3 separate regions of the Homo sapiens genome follow, and regions 2 and 3 are each linked to region 1. The links are contacts of gene promoters, found by promoter capture Hi-C in blood cells and fetal thymus (Javierre and others, 2016). All regions are on one chromosome and are shown on one strand. Each heading gives the region's core, a stretch centred on a gene start or on the middle of the fragment in contact. The rest is flanking DNA. Distances are from core to core; before and after follow the strand shown. Region 1 holds the start of POLR3A (RNA polymerase III subunit A). Region 2 holds the start of TSPAN14 (tetraspanin 14). Region 3 overlaps TMEM254-AS1 (TMEM254 antisense RNA 1).

What was found. The method cuts DNA at HindIII sites, captures the fragments that hold promoters and counts their contacts. A CHiCAGO score of 5 or more calls a contact.
Region 2: the fragment with the promoter of TSPAN14 here is called in contact with the fragment with the promoter of POLR3A in region 1 in 2 of 17 cell types (naive CD8 T cells and activated CD4 T cells); the score reaches 8.2 in naive CD8 T cells.
Region 3: a contact is called between a fragment that was not itself captured here and the fragment with the promoter of POLR3A in region 1, in 2 of 17 cell types (activated CD4 T cells and naive CD8 T cells). The highest score is 7.5, in activated CD4 T cells.

Annotation. Positions count from the first base shown.
Region 1 is chr10:78,027,652-78,031,902 of GRCh38, forward strand. It overlaps POLR3A (RNA polymerase III subunit A), which reads right to left and starts at 1,864. Exons shown (of 31, transcript NM_007055.4): 1 at 1,713-1,864. The coding sequence starts at 1,756. RefSeq lists an enhancer at 1,784-2,033. The HindIII fragment of the contact is 13,008 bases long and covers 1-4,251 here.
Region 2 is chr10:80,452,144-80,456,394 of GRCh38, forward strand. TSPAN14 (tetraspanin 14) reads left to right here and starts at 2,167. Exons shown (of 9, transcript NM_030927.4): 1 at 2,167-2,228. RefSeq lists enhancers at 1,523-1,732, 2,476-2,993, 2,943-3,202, 3,233-3,282 and a silencer at 1,763-2,812. The HindIII fragment of the contact is 5,289 bases long and covers 1,484-4,251 here.
Region 3 is chr10:80,073,923-80,078,173 of GRCh38, forward strand. All of the region lies in intron 1 of TMEM254-AS1 (TMEM254 antisense RNA 1), which reads right to left. Among named protein-coding and RNA genes, the nearest start is that of TMEM254, 2.6 kb to the right of the region's middle. The HindIII fragment of the contact is 3,048 bases long and covers 867-3,914 here.

The DNA of each region.
Region 1 (4,251 bases), core at 614-3,113:
GCGATTCTCCTGCCTCAGACTCCCAAGTAGCTGGGGTTACAGGCATACAGGCATGCGCCACCGCACCCAGCTAATTTTTGTATTTTTAGTAGAGATGAGGTTTTACCATATTGGCCAGTCTGGTCTTGAACTTCTGACCTCATGATCTGCCTGCCATGGCCTCCCAAAGTGCTGGGATTACAGACGTGAGCCACCACTCCTGGCCTCTGCTAGAGGATTTTAATTGACAATACCCTTAATTTGCACTTTGACAGAAGCACTTTCTCTGTTTTGTGAGAATGTATTATATCTGACTGGGCGCAGGTGTACAGGTGGGTGTGAAGGGCCAGTGTCGATGTAGAGCTACCACATGGGAGAATGCTGCATTCACCTAGGTAAGACACCTGTTCTAGTGAATGGCAACCATCCACACAGCTGCCCAAGCAAGGCATTCTGTATATCCGTCTCAAGGTCTCTCGACCTCTAATTCTTTCCACCATGAATCAAGAGATTTTCCAGAAGGAGAACTCTTATCAAGATACTCTCCTGTTGAAAATCCTTCAAAGGTTCCTCACTGCCTACAAGATGACTTCTTAACACAGCTTCAAGTCTTCTGCTTCCTTCTGATCACCTGTGTTCTCTCCCTCAGGTCTGCTCCTTGAAAAAAGCAGTTTGGTCTGCTTTCTTTTGCCTGGACCCATTATGTGCTCTCAAAACCCCCTGGACCTACCCTTGTCATTGCACTTGTCGTACCCAGTGTTGACTTGTGTACCTTCTCCAACTAGATTAGGCAGTAAAAGTTTTATTCAGACCGTATCTTTAACGTCCAACACTGGGAATAACGCGCAGTATCCTCCTCAGTGTCTGCTGTAAGAATGATGAATTCACTTTTTTTTTTGAGACACCGTCTCACTCTGTCACTCAGGGTGGAATGCAGGAGGTTGCCCACTGCAACCTCTGCCTCCCAGGCTCAAGTGATTTTTCGGCCTCAGCCTCCCGAGTAGCTGGGACCACAAGGGCGCGCCACCACGCCTGCTAATTTTTGTATTTTTGATAGAGACGGGGTTTCGCCACGTTGCCCAGGCTAGTCTCAAACTCCTGAGCTCAGGAGATTCACCCGCTTCGGCCTCCTAAAGTGCTGGGATTACAGGAGTAAGCCACCGCGCCCGGCTGGATTCACTTTCTTACCGAGAACTCTAAGAAGGAGCCACCGCCTAATAACGTATTTCTGAAGGCAAAAGTCCGGATAGCAGCTTTATTTCTGACACTGCCATCCGTCGGCCTGTGGTACAGCTTTCTAGTGGGCAACCCCATCCTTTTGGTAAGCAACTACTGCCTCCGTGTCAGACGCTCTGCGGCTGACAGAATTAGAGACAGTCCCCGCCCCAGATTGCTCCCCTCGCTGCAGCAGGGGATAGTTCGCTGAAGAACAGGGATCATTGTATGACTTCAGGAGAATGCGAGCTTTGGCCCAGGGTGCACAAATCATTAAGGCTCAGGCCACTCCGACTTCTCCGCCCAAGTCCAGGGACCTCTCGAGGTGCTGAAATCCCCTCAGCCTGACCAATGCTCTTTGACCAACGCTGGTAGTTCTGGGCGCTGGTCACACCTATGGACTACTGGCCCTCCCCTTCCCATTGCACCCCATCTCTGACCCTGCAAGACCCGGGACCGCTGACCTCGGACCCCTTGCCCTATTTCTCAGCCCTTTGGCCACTCTTACTCCGTCTTACATTTTCTTGGCCACATCCGTCTCCCGGAACTGCTCCTTCACCATGATGACCGCTGCCGGGACGCCTCCTTGGCACTCGGGAGGCCAGATTAGAGAAACGATGCCCCCAGCACCTCCTGGGGCTGCTTCTGGACTCGCCGCTAACACATCTGCGGCATCCTCTCGGCCACCGTAGAGTGTCCCACGTGTCCGCTTCCTCTTCCGCTACTCGCCCGCGCGTCTGTCTGTCAAGAGAGACTTCCGGCATGCCTTTTTTTTTTTTTTTTTTCCCTTTCCCCGCACCGTCACCTGGTGGCGCTTACTGGAAGCCGCACCGAGGCGTGTGCTGTATTTTAAAAATCCCATTTCTGGTCAATTTCTCCACGTAATCAGACACCCGCAGAGAAACTGCATATAACTCTTTGCCTCAAGGCTTTTAGACAAGCAGAGGGCCAAAACTTGCATAAAATGGAAAATCATCATCATTAACATCAGTACCATCTAAATTAAGAGCTTCTAATTGTTTTAAGGGAAGGTGGAAGCTAAAATGAACCGGCCCATCCAACAGAGGGCACTATCTGTGGAGGACCAACAAAGGAAAACAGAGCGGAAAATATGGGCGCACATGTGCCTCCAGTTCATGAAGTTATTTGGAGGGAGGGGGGAAGAATTAAACTTACATTATTGATTACAAAAACAGTTGAAAATCTGTTAGAGTGAAAACAGCCATGGTAATCTACAGAAGAAAAGGGAGAATGGAAAGTAAAGATCATTCATGTCTTGAAATAAGTTGTCTACAGTCTGTGAGAACTTGTGGGAGGTGATCCTAGTGTGATATATTAGTGCATGAGCCTAGCAAGGAAATCACATCACCACAGGGCTTAGCGCTTAGAATTAGAACTAAGTCCTCATTATTTGTGAGAAACTCAAAACAGAACTTAACAAAAGTGTTTAACAACTTTCAATTTTTAAGAAGGGACGCTATCTCATTTTCAGACGCCATGGATCCTCACTAGCAAAACACAATGTCACAGACAAACGAGGCATATCAGGTTTTTCTAACTCATTTCGGTACTCCATCACTTAATCATGAAATAATGTTGACTATATATATATATATATATATATATATATAGTCAACATTATGGGTTTTTTTTGTTTTTTTTTTTTTTTTTTTTTTGAGACGGAGTCTCGCTCTGTCGCCTAGACTGGAGTGCAGTGGCGAAATCTCGGCTCACCGCAACCTCCGCCTCCCGGGTTCAAGCGATTCTCCTGGCTCAGCCTCCCGAGTAGCTGGGACTACAAGCGCCCGCCACCACGCCCAGCTAATTTTTGTATTTTTAGTAGAGACGGGGTTTTACTATGTTGGCCAGGCTGGTCTCGAATCCCTGACCTCGTGATCCGCCCGCCTCAGTCTCCCAAAGTGATAGGATTACAGGTGTGAGCCACCACACCCGGCTCTGATGTTTACAATATTATACCAACAAGGGTTGGATCGTGTGTGACTTATCTAGAGGTTAAGAGCAAAAGTTATGAAATCACAGTGCCATCATGGGAGTCTAGCTTTCACCATTTAAAGTTGTGTAGGCAGCCAGGCGTGGTGGCTCACGCCTGTAATCCTAGCACTTTGGGAGGCCAAGGTGGGCGGATCACCTGAGGTCAGGAGTTCGGGACCAGCCTGGTCAACATGGTGAAACCCCATCTCTACTAAAAATACAAAAATTAGCTGGGGTTGGTGGTGTGCGCCTGTAATCCCAGGTACTCGGGAGGCTGAGGCAGGAGAATCGCTTGAAGCTGGGAGGTGGAGGTTGCAGTGAGCCGAGACCATGCCATTGCACTGCAGCCTGGGCGACAAGAGTGAAACTCCATCTCAAAAATAAAAAAAAATAAAAAATAAAGTTGTGCAGGCCGGGCGCGGTGGCTCACGCCTGTAATCTCAGCACTTTGGGAGGCCGAGGTGGGCAGATCATGAGGTCAGGAATTTGAGACCAGCCTGACCAATATGGTGAAACTCCGTCTCTACTAAAAAATACAAAAATTAGCCTGGTGTGGTGGCGCATTCCTGTAATTCCAGCAACTCAGGAGGCTAAGGCAGGAGAATCGCTTAAATCCGGGAGGCGGAGGTTGCAGTGAGCCAAGATTGTGCCACTGCACTCCAGCCTGGGCAACAGAGCAAGACTCTGCCTCAAAAAAAAAAAAAAAAAAAATATATATATATATATATATAGATATAGATATAGATATATGTGTATATATACACATACGTGTATATATACACGTATATAAAGTGTGAACTTGGGAAAGTTATTTAATCTTATTGTGTGTTAGTTTCCCCATTTATAACATGGGTGAGTAATATGTATCCTATTTCTTAGAGTCAATGGGAAGGTTAAATAGCAAAATGAAGGTAAAAGTAATTAGAATGTAACAGGCACATTACAATCACTCAATAAATATTCTTCTGCCTCAGCCTCCCGAGTAGCTGGGACTACAGGTGCGCACCACCATGCCTGGCTAATTTTTGTATTTTTAGTAGAGACGGGGTTTCACCATATTGGCTA
Region 2 (4,251 bases), core at 917-3,416, 2.4 Mb after region 1:
AAGTCCAAAATAGCATCTCTCAACTACTCATCTTAGCATGACCACCACTTTGGTTCAAACCACCATCATCTTTGGCCTGGATTGTGGCAAGCCTAATTGGCTCCCTGCTTTTATTTTTGCCTGACACCCACACACAGCCTTAAATCAGAACATGTTAGTCTTCTGCATAAAACCCTTCCAAGGCTCAACAAAGTCTCCATTCTTTGACACAGCCCACAGGCCCTGCATGCTTTGGCCCCCACCCACCTTCTCACTCCATCCTGGGCCTCTTCCCCTAGGCTTAAAACTTCAGCCACACTGATTTTCTTTCAGTTCCCTGACCCATCCAGAACTTACCCTGAAAAGGCACCTACTGCTCTCAGCGAGGAATGTCTCTGCCCAACTTTTCCCAAGGCTAACTCCTTACTCTTTTGACTTCAATTTCAGCATCGCCTCCTCACTTTCCCTGACTGCTTCATCTAAGGTAGCTTTTATTCTCTATTCTAGCCCCTTGTTTTTGTCCCAGCCTTTACTTCAACTTGTGATTATGTATTTGTCTTCTCCACTAAAAATTAACTTTATTGGGCAAAAGGCCTCAGCTGTCTTGTTCACTGAAGTATCCCACCATGCACACAGGGCCTGGCATATTATCAGGCACTCAGACAAACACTCACTATCTGCTGAATGAATGGACAGGTTCCCAGGGAGTTTCCAGAGCTGCCTGGGCTGTCACAGACAGGTTGCATCCCTCTTAATTAAACAAACAAATAAAATTAGCCAGGCACCGTGGCTCATGCGTGTAATTCCAGCACTCTGGGAGGCAGAGGCGGAAGGATTGCTTAAGCCCAGGAATTTAAGACCATCACTGGCAACACAGCAAGATCTCGTCTCTACAAAAAAAAAAAAAAAAAAATTAGCTAGGTGTGGTGGCCTGCACCTGTGGTCCCAGCTACTTGGGGAAGCTGAGGCGGGAGGTCGAGGCTGCAGTGAGCCATGGTCATGCCACTGCACTCCAGCCTGGGTGACAAAGCGATACCTTAGCTCAAAAAACAACCCAAACAAACCTGGGAATGGACTGAACAGTCTCCATTTCAAGATTTCCTCCTTCCATTGGAATTAACCTGTTGGTTGCTTGTACTGGCATGTGGCAACCAGTCTTAGCCCAGTTTTAATAGATCCCTGTTTGGTGTTACTCAACAGAGAAGACCACTCGGCCCTCAGCCACCGAATAAGTTTAAGAAACAGAGGTGTGGCATGCTTCATTCTACAGGTAGGGAGGCTGAGGCTGGGGAGCCGCCCCTGGCTATCCCTGGAAACCCCTCTACCCCACAGGAATCGTCCCAGCCATCTCTTTAGCGTAAAGGTGAGGAACAAATCTCAGCCACGATCCAAAGAGGGGCGCCACCCCTGGCTGTCCCTGGAAACCCCCCTACACCACAAGAATCGTCCCAGCCACCTCTTTAGCGTAAAGGTTAGGAAGAAATCTCAGCCACGATCCAAAGAAAGCTTGGTATTTTTAGCACCAAGGCCAGAAGGAGCGTGTCCTTACTCCTTGGTTTACAAAGAAATAAAAACCTTTTCCCCATCCTTCTTTTGATTGAAGACTACCCCCGCCCCCAGGCTCCAAAGCCGGGCAGGAACGCCTCTTATCTCCACCACAGCCATTTTCCTAATCCTTCGCCCGCTCTCCACGGTCATCCCGTGTATCCCTCGAGACGCCGCCTCCCACAGCTCGTGCTTCTCCCAGGTTCGGCTCCGACAAGGCCAGAGCGGCGTCTGCGCAGCGCAACGGCTCAGAGCGCTCCCGGCGGCTACAAGTGCCCGGCCCCGGGCCAGGCCCGGCCTGCGCCGCGCACCCACTGGGAGGGCGCGGACCGGGGCCGCCCCAAGCCTCCGGCACCGCCCAGAGCGGGACAAAGGGGCGGGCCGGCGACCCGGCCTCGCGGTCCCCGGTGCCGCGCGGGCCGGGAGGCGGGGTGCGGTGGGGGAGGGGCGAGGCGGCTGGGGGAGGGGCGGGGCCAGGGCGGGCCCAGGCGCCCGGGGCCGCACCGGGCGGCGCAGGGAAGCGGCGCCCCTTCCTCGGCAGACGGCAGGCGCCGCGCCTCCGGCCCCGCCCCTCCGCGCCCCTCCGCGCCCCGCCCCCGCCGCTCGGACGGCCCGAGTCGCGCCCTCCCGCCCCGCGCCGCGGAACTTGCTCTAACTTCCTCGGCCGAGCCGGGCCGCGCCGCCGCTGCCGCCGCCGCGCGCGGGTGAGTAGAGCGCGGAGACCTGGCTGGGGCGTCGGGCCCTGCCCCTTTCTTTGTCTGAGGCCGACTTCCCCGAGCGTTCTCCGGGGGCGAGGGCTGCTCCTTAGGTCCCTGTTTGGCCCCTCAGCCTCCCTCCCCGCCTGCCCAGGAGCGGCCCCGCGGGCGGCGCTGGCTTTGTCTGCCAGGATTGCTCGCTAGAGGTTGGAGGCCTCCGCCGGGACCCCGCTGAGCCGAACTCCGGCGCCGCGCGGACGAGAGCCGCGGCGGGCCCGGGGCCGGCACTCCTGGTTCGGTAGCCCTCGCCCCATCAGCGCGCCCCGGCGAGTGCGCGCCCGTGCCGGGCGGGGTGAGGGCGACGGGAGCCTGGACGGCCGCTGCTGCTCGGGGCTCTGCTTCTCGTCCCCAGCAGCGAGCTCGGGGATGGGCCACCCTTTCGGCTCAGTCACCCACCCTCGGCTCCCAGGAGATCGGGTCCGGGGTGGGGGTGGGCGTAGGCCGGGGCGGGCCGCCCCTTCCTCCTGCCCCGCCGTGGTTGTGCTCAGTCTCCCACGCCGCCGTGGGTCCCACTCTGCCCGGCTTGGGTTTGGGACGGCCGGAGTTTGAGTAGGCGGTGACCCAGCTTCTCCGCGTTAGTCGTGTGGGGTTGTGTTTGGGAGCAAAGCCTGACCCCTGACCTAGCCGGAGTTCTGGTAGAGTGAGGTTTGTGGCTGCGGACTGTGCTTGTCCCGGGCCGCTGCTGCTTCTCCTCCACCCCCAGGGGTGGGGTGCGGGTGGGTAGGAAGTGCCTGTGTGAGGGTGTGTGGAGGGACTTTGGCCCTGGGACCGCAGGAGCACTTGTCTTGGGGACTTAAAGTTGATCTCCGGCGAGAAACAGTCCGTGCTAGGGGGAGTCGGGGGAAGTCGTGGGCCCGGGTACTGGCCTGGGGCTGGGCGCAGAGCGGTGGTGAGTGCGGCGGTGTCACACACTCGTTGGCTGTGCTGGCGCTGCTATCCGGGAGGTCAGGCGGTGCTGGGCGGCTGTGCAGAGCATTGTATTGGAGCCTCTGCAGGTGTGCTCTTGGCAGTGGTCTGCTCTCCAGGGGATCTTCCTCCCTTCCGAGAGGGAGTTGCTCTTGGGCTAGTGAGAGAGTGGCCTGCCAAATCCTCAAAAGTAGCCTTCCCCTTGCCCCTTGACCTTGAAGTCCAGAAGCAGTTAGTGCCTGCTGAGTGCTCCGGCCACCCTTCTCTATTTGTGAAGGGAAACCTGGGGACAGGCCATCGGAGCACCCCTATGTCCTTGCCACATTTCAGCTAGCCGAGTGGTTGGTGGGGGCGGCCGTCTTTCCAGGGATCTTCCTGGGCCCTGGCACCCCCAGAATGAAGCCCAGACTCCACCATAATGGCCCTGTATGCCCTTCTATCCCCTTAGCTGCTGGTGTGATCATAGCCTCAAATTGCTGGGCTCAAGTGATCCTCCCACCTCAGCCTCCCAAAGCACAGGGATTACAGGTGTGAGCCACCACGCGCAGTCTGATCCCACTCCGATCCCTAACGTTATAGTGACAGGCCCTGGAAACCCAGGGCCACCAGATGTATTTTCCCTTTCCTTCTCATTGTGTTGCACCCCAACTTCAGTTGGAGACTCTGGATATATCCATCCCCACATCTCTGAACTCCACTGCTTGGGCCACCTAATGTCATCCTCAGTTTAGTTAACAAAGCATGGTTGAGATTTCTGTGGGGTGCGAGGCATTGTTGCAGGCACTATTCCAAGTCTGGAAAGTCCCTCACCAGCTATGAACTTGGTGTGGTCTTAGAACCCAGGCTGGACATGGCATAGGTGCTCAGTAGTGTTTATTGATCTGAGCTTGATCTCAGCGTAGCAGGATCATTTAGGGAGACGGGGTTGTGGGGGGGGTCTGAGCCCATGGGTGCTTCTGAAGGTTTGTGGCTGCCCCAGGAAGAAAGGGCATGGAGCTGCAGAATGGTTGGCTGCCCAGGGAATTGTCCCCTTCACCAGCTGGGCAGCTGTGCTAGTCTCTGAGGA
Region 3 (4,251 bases), core at 1,141-3,640, 2.0 Mb after region 1:
TAAATAAAACAAACAGAATTTCACTGACTCACCTTGGCTAAGGGATCAAATCAAAACCCCTCGGTTTGATACCAAATGCCATTCATGATCAGGACTCCACCTGTCTTTGCAGCCTCAACTTCCTTCACTCAATTTCTTCACATTGTTTTTTTCTAGCAACAAAAAATTTCTCCTAATTCCCTGGACACACAATATTCTATTCAAATTTCTGTAAATTTGTTTAGGTCGCCCTTCCCCCATCCTATAATCCTGGGAAGGTGTGGGAGTTTTTTGCTGTATCTCAGCACTTGTCCATCCTATAGCCACCTCATCATAACTCCCCAAGGAGGACTACTTATTAATACCTCTGTATCTCTTGATACTGCATCATTTGTGTATTTGTGTTTGGGAGTGGACAGTATTATTTAAAATATTTTTTCTGGAATAGATAACTAATTGCCCCAAAATAATTTACTGAATAATCCATTATTCCTTCCTTAATTTGAAATGTTACCTTTATTATAAAATAAACGCTTGGATATGTATATACCAGATCCATGTCTGGAGTCTGCATTATTTTTTCATTGATCCATTTGTTGATTTCTGCATGTCAAGTGCCAAATGTTTTACATTATTATAGCTCTTTACAGTGTGTCTTGATATCTAGTAGGCCAATCTTATGAGGAAAAACAATGTTATTTTTGCTTTATTTTGCGTATCCCATAGGGCCATTAAGATTGAACCATCCTTTCATTTTGCTTGGTCTCAAGTTTTCTCTTTTGAGGATGCCCAATTCATATCCTTTAATCATTTGTCAATTACATATATTGGAGAATTCCTTCTTCCAGGTATTTCAACTTTATTTACAGTGTCATTCATATGAATGAAGCTTTTCATCTGGATGCAGTTAAATTTTCAATCTTTCCTTCTATGGCTTTTAATTTTAATAACTTGCTAAAAGGTTTCCTTCCCCTCCCTCAAAAGTTGTAAAACTATTCTCCCAGACTTTCTTCATTATTTTTCATATTTAGGTCACTAATCCATCTAGACAGGGGGATAAAAATGTCCAGGGATGAGATATTTCTCTGCCAATTCAGATGGGACAGCAGTGTAGGGTGCCTGGACCTTAGAGAATTCAGTCACCCCTGCCGTGTGTGAAGGGTGACTGTAATGAAGAAAGGAATGCCTTCTGAACATCCAGTTGACTGTAAGTTCTTCATGAATTTACATAAACTACTCACATCTGAACAAAGATCTTCTGGTACTGTCTTCTGGATTCCTTATCTGTGCGTGAGGGGCTAACAGTAAGATGTTTAGTGTTGAGCTGTTGGTGGCCAGGTACAGCCTCTAACTATAATCCCAGCACTTTGGGAGGCTGAGGTGGAAGGATTACTTAAGGCTGGGAGTTTGAGATCTGCCTGGGCAACATAGTGAAGCACCGTCTCTATTAAAAAAAAAAAAAATAGTGTGGAGTTGGAAGACATAGGACACTAAGTAACAGGCTGGGCTCCAAGCAGGGTTGTAGAAGACATGAAACTAAAACCTAGCTCCCTGTAGTCTGTTGACTGAAGCCATTTTGCCTCTCCAACATTTCTTGTAGCATGAATAATTTCTCCAATATCTCCCTCGTTGCAGATTTAATACCTAAATAGAAATACTGAAAAACGGCAGCCTAAAATTGGGGAAGTTCTTGAAACTTTTGGTAAGGTAGGCTGGGTATGGTGGCTCACACCTGTAATCTCAGCACTTGGGGAAGCCAAGGCAGGTGGATCACCTGAGGTCAGGAGTTTGAGACCAGCCTGGTCAACATGGCGAAACCCCATCTCTACTAAAAATACAAAAAATTAGCTGGGTGTGGTGGCATGTGACTGTAGTCCCAGCTACTAGAGAGAGTGTGGCAGGAGAATCACTTGAACCCAGAAGGCCAAGGTTGCAGTGAGCTGAGATTGCGCCATTGCACTACAATCTGAGCAATAGAGTGAGACTCTGTCTCAAAAAAAAAAAAAAGTTTTGGTATGGTAAAGGCTTGATCAGAACTGTACTTGAAAAAGATGATCCTGTTATTTGTCAGACAGATTCAATAAAGGGACTGCATGTGGGCTGAAGTGGCAGGAAGTAGGAAGGAGTGACTGACTCATGAGACAGTGGAGATGAAGCCATGATTTAATCTAGAAGGATTAGATATTGTATTACCCAATCAGTAGAACTCTTGACAGCTGATTAGTCTGCAATCTTTATATGATATGGGGGAAGTCAAAGCAAGGAATCTGGGTACAAGGTAGAAAGAAAGTGCTGTTCACATAGAGTAGGCCGGGCGAGGTGGCTCATACTTGTAATCCCAACACTTTGGGAGGCCGAGGCAGGCAGATCACCTGAGGTCAGGAGTTCGAGACCAGCCTGGCCAACATGGTGAAACCCCGTCTCCACAATTAGCCAAGCGTGGTGGTGCACACCTGTAATCCAAGCTACTCAGGAGGCTGAGACAGGGGAATCACTTGAAGTGGGGAGGCAGAGGTTGCAGTGAGCCGAGATCGCAACACTGCACTCCAGCCTGGGCAACAAGAGCAAAACTCCATCTCAAAAAAAAAAAAAAAAAAAAAAAAAACCACAGACAGGGTAGCCTTGGTGAGGATGGACTCTGTGGATAATGATAATGGACTTCTTGTCTTTGAGGTGTGAGTAATCTTTGGTAAAGGTGACCAACTGGGAAGAGGTGAGGGCTGAAGAGATTATTTTAGTCAGCTGAAGGTGAAAATTGAATCTGATAGGTACTGAAAACACAAAGAAGATAATAAGCAAAACTTATTCTAGGAGAGAAGAAAGAAAAGGAAAGCTGAGAAAACAAGGAGTTATTCAGAAGGAGGAGAAGAATAAAGAGGGTGGTGTGATCAAGGATGATAAGGACTAAGAAAACACCAATTGTTACAATTGTTACTGTTAATCTTGATATTCAAGAGCACTGTGGTCTACCTGGGAAATGGATTTCCTCACATATTCTGAAATTCATTCTTTAAGACTTTATATCCCAAGATACTCACGTAAAAAATGAGGAAAGAGAACCTTGGTTGGTTCCAGAGTGCCCTCTCTGGAACTGGAACACTCAGCTGCCAATTGTTTTCCAGTATTCCTCACCCACTTGGGCATGACAGGACCCTGTGCTGTTTCTTCTTCTTTGAAATAAGGACAATAGTTTACTGCCTAGGATTGTTTTAAGAATTAAATTAGTTAATTATTGTATAGTACTTAGAACAATGCCTTGAACATAGTAGGTGTTCAATAAATACCAGCTACAGTATAGTAACTTTTTTTTTTTTTTTTTGACGGAGTCTCACTCTATAGCCCAAGCTGAAGTGCAGTGATTGGATCTCGGCTCACTGCAACCTCCGCCTCCGGTGCTCAAGCAATTCTCGTGCCTCAGCCTCCCAAGTAGTTGGGACTATAGACACGCGCCACCACCCCCAGCTAATTTTTTGTATTTTAGTAGAGACAGGGTTTCACCATGTTCTCCAGGGTGGTCTCGAACTCCTGAGCGATCCACCCACCTCGGCCTCCAAAAGTGCCAGGATTATAGGCTTGAGCCACTGCGCTTGGCCAGTAACCCATTTTTAAGGCCCAGGTGAAATAGTTTTTCTATTTCTATGATTTTCTATTTCTATGATTAAATAGTGTTTAATCAGACACTTCAGCTGCATATACCTCCCACAGCTCATTGATGATACAACAGTTCGCACAGGGCCTGGCACACATGCTAAAGGCTCAGCAGTATTGATAATCACCCACACTTACAAAGCACTATGGGCCAGACACTGCTGTGCTTTCTTTACAGATATCAACTCATTTAACCCACCCTAAAAACCCTGAGGTTCCCAAAACTGGCATATCCTCATGTTACAGATACAGAAACTAAGACACAGCCGGGCTAAGTAATTAATCTAAGCTTACACAAATAGCCGAGACAGAGCCAGGACTTAAATCCAGGCAGCCTGTTTCACAGTCCCTGCTCATAACCATGGTGCTGTATAGTTCCAAACATCTTAACTAATGAGGACAGCATTATTTCTCAAGGTGCACAGCACAGAGAACTTCAAAAATTAGACTCTTAGTAAAACACCATCTTTTTTTTTTTTTTTTGAGACAGGGTCTTGCTGTGTTGCCCAGGCTGGAGTGCAGTGGCGTGATCTGGGCCCACTGCAACCTGCACCTCTCAGGTTCAAGAGAGTCTTGTCTCAGCCTCTGGAGTTGCTGGGACTACAGGCAGGCACCACCGCGCCC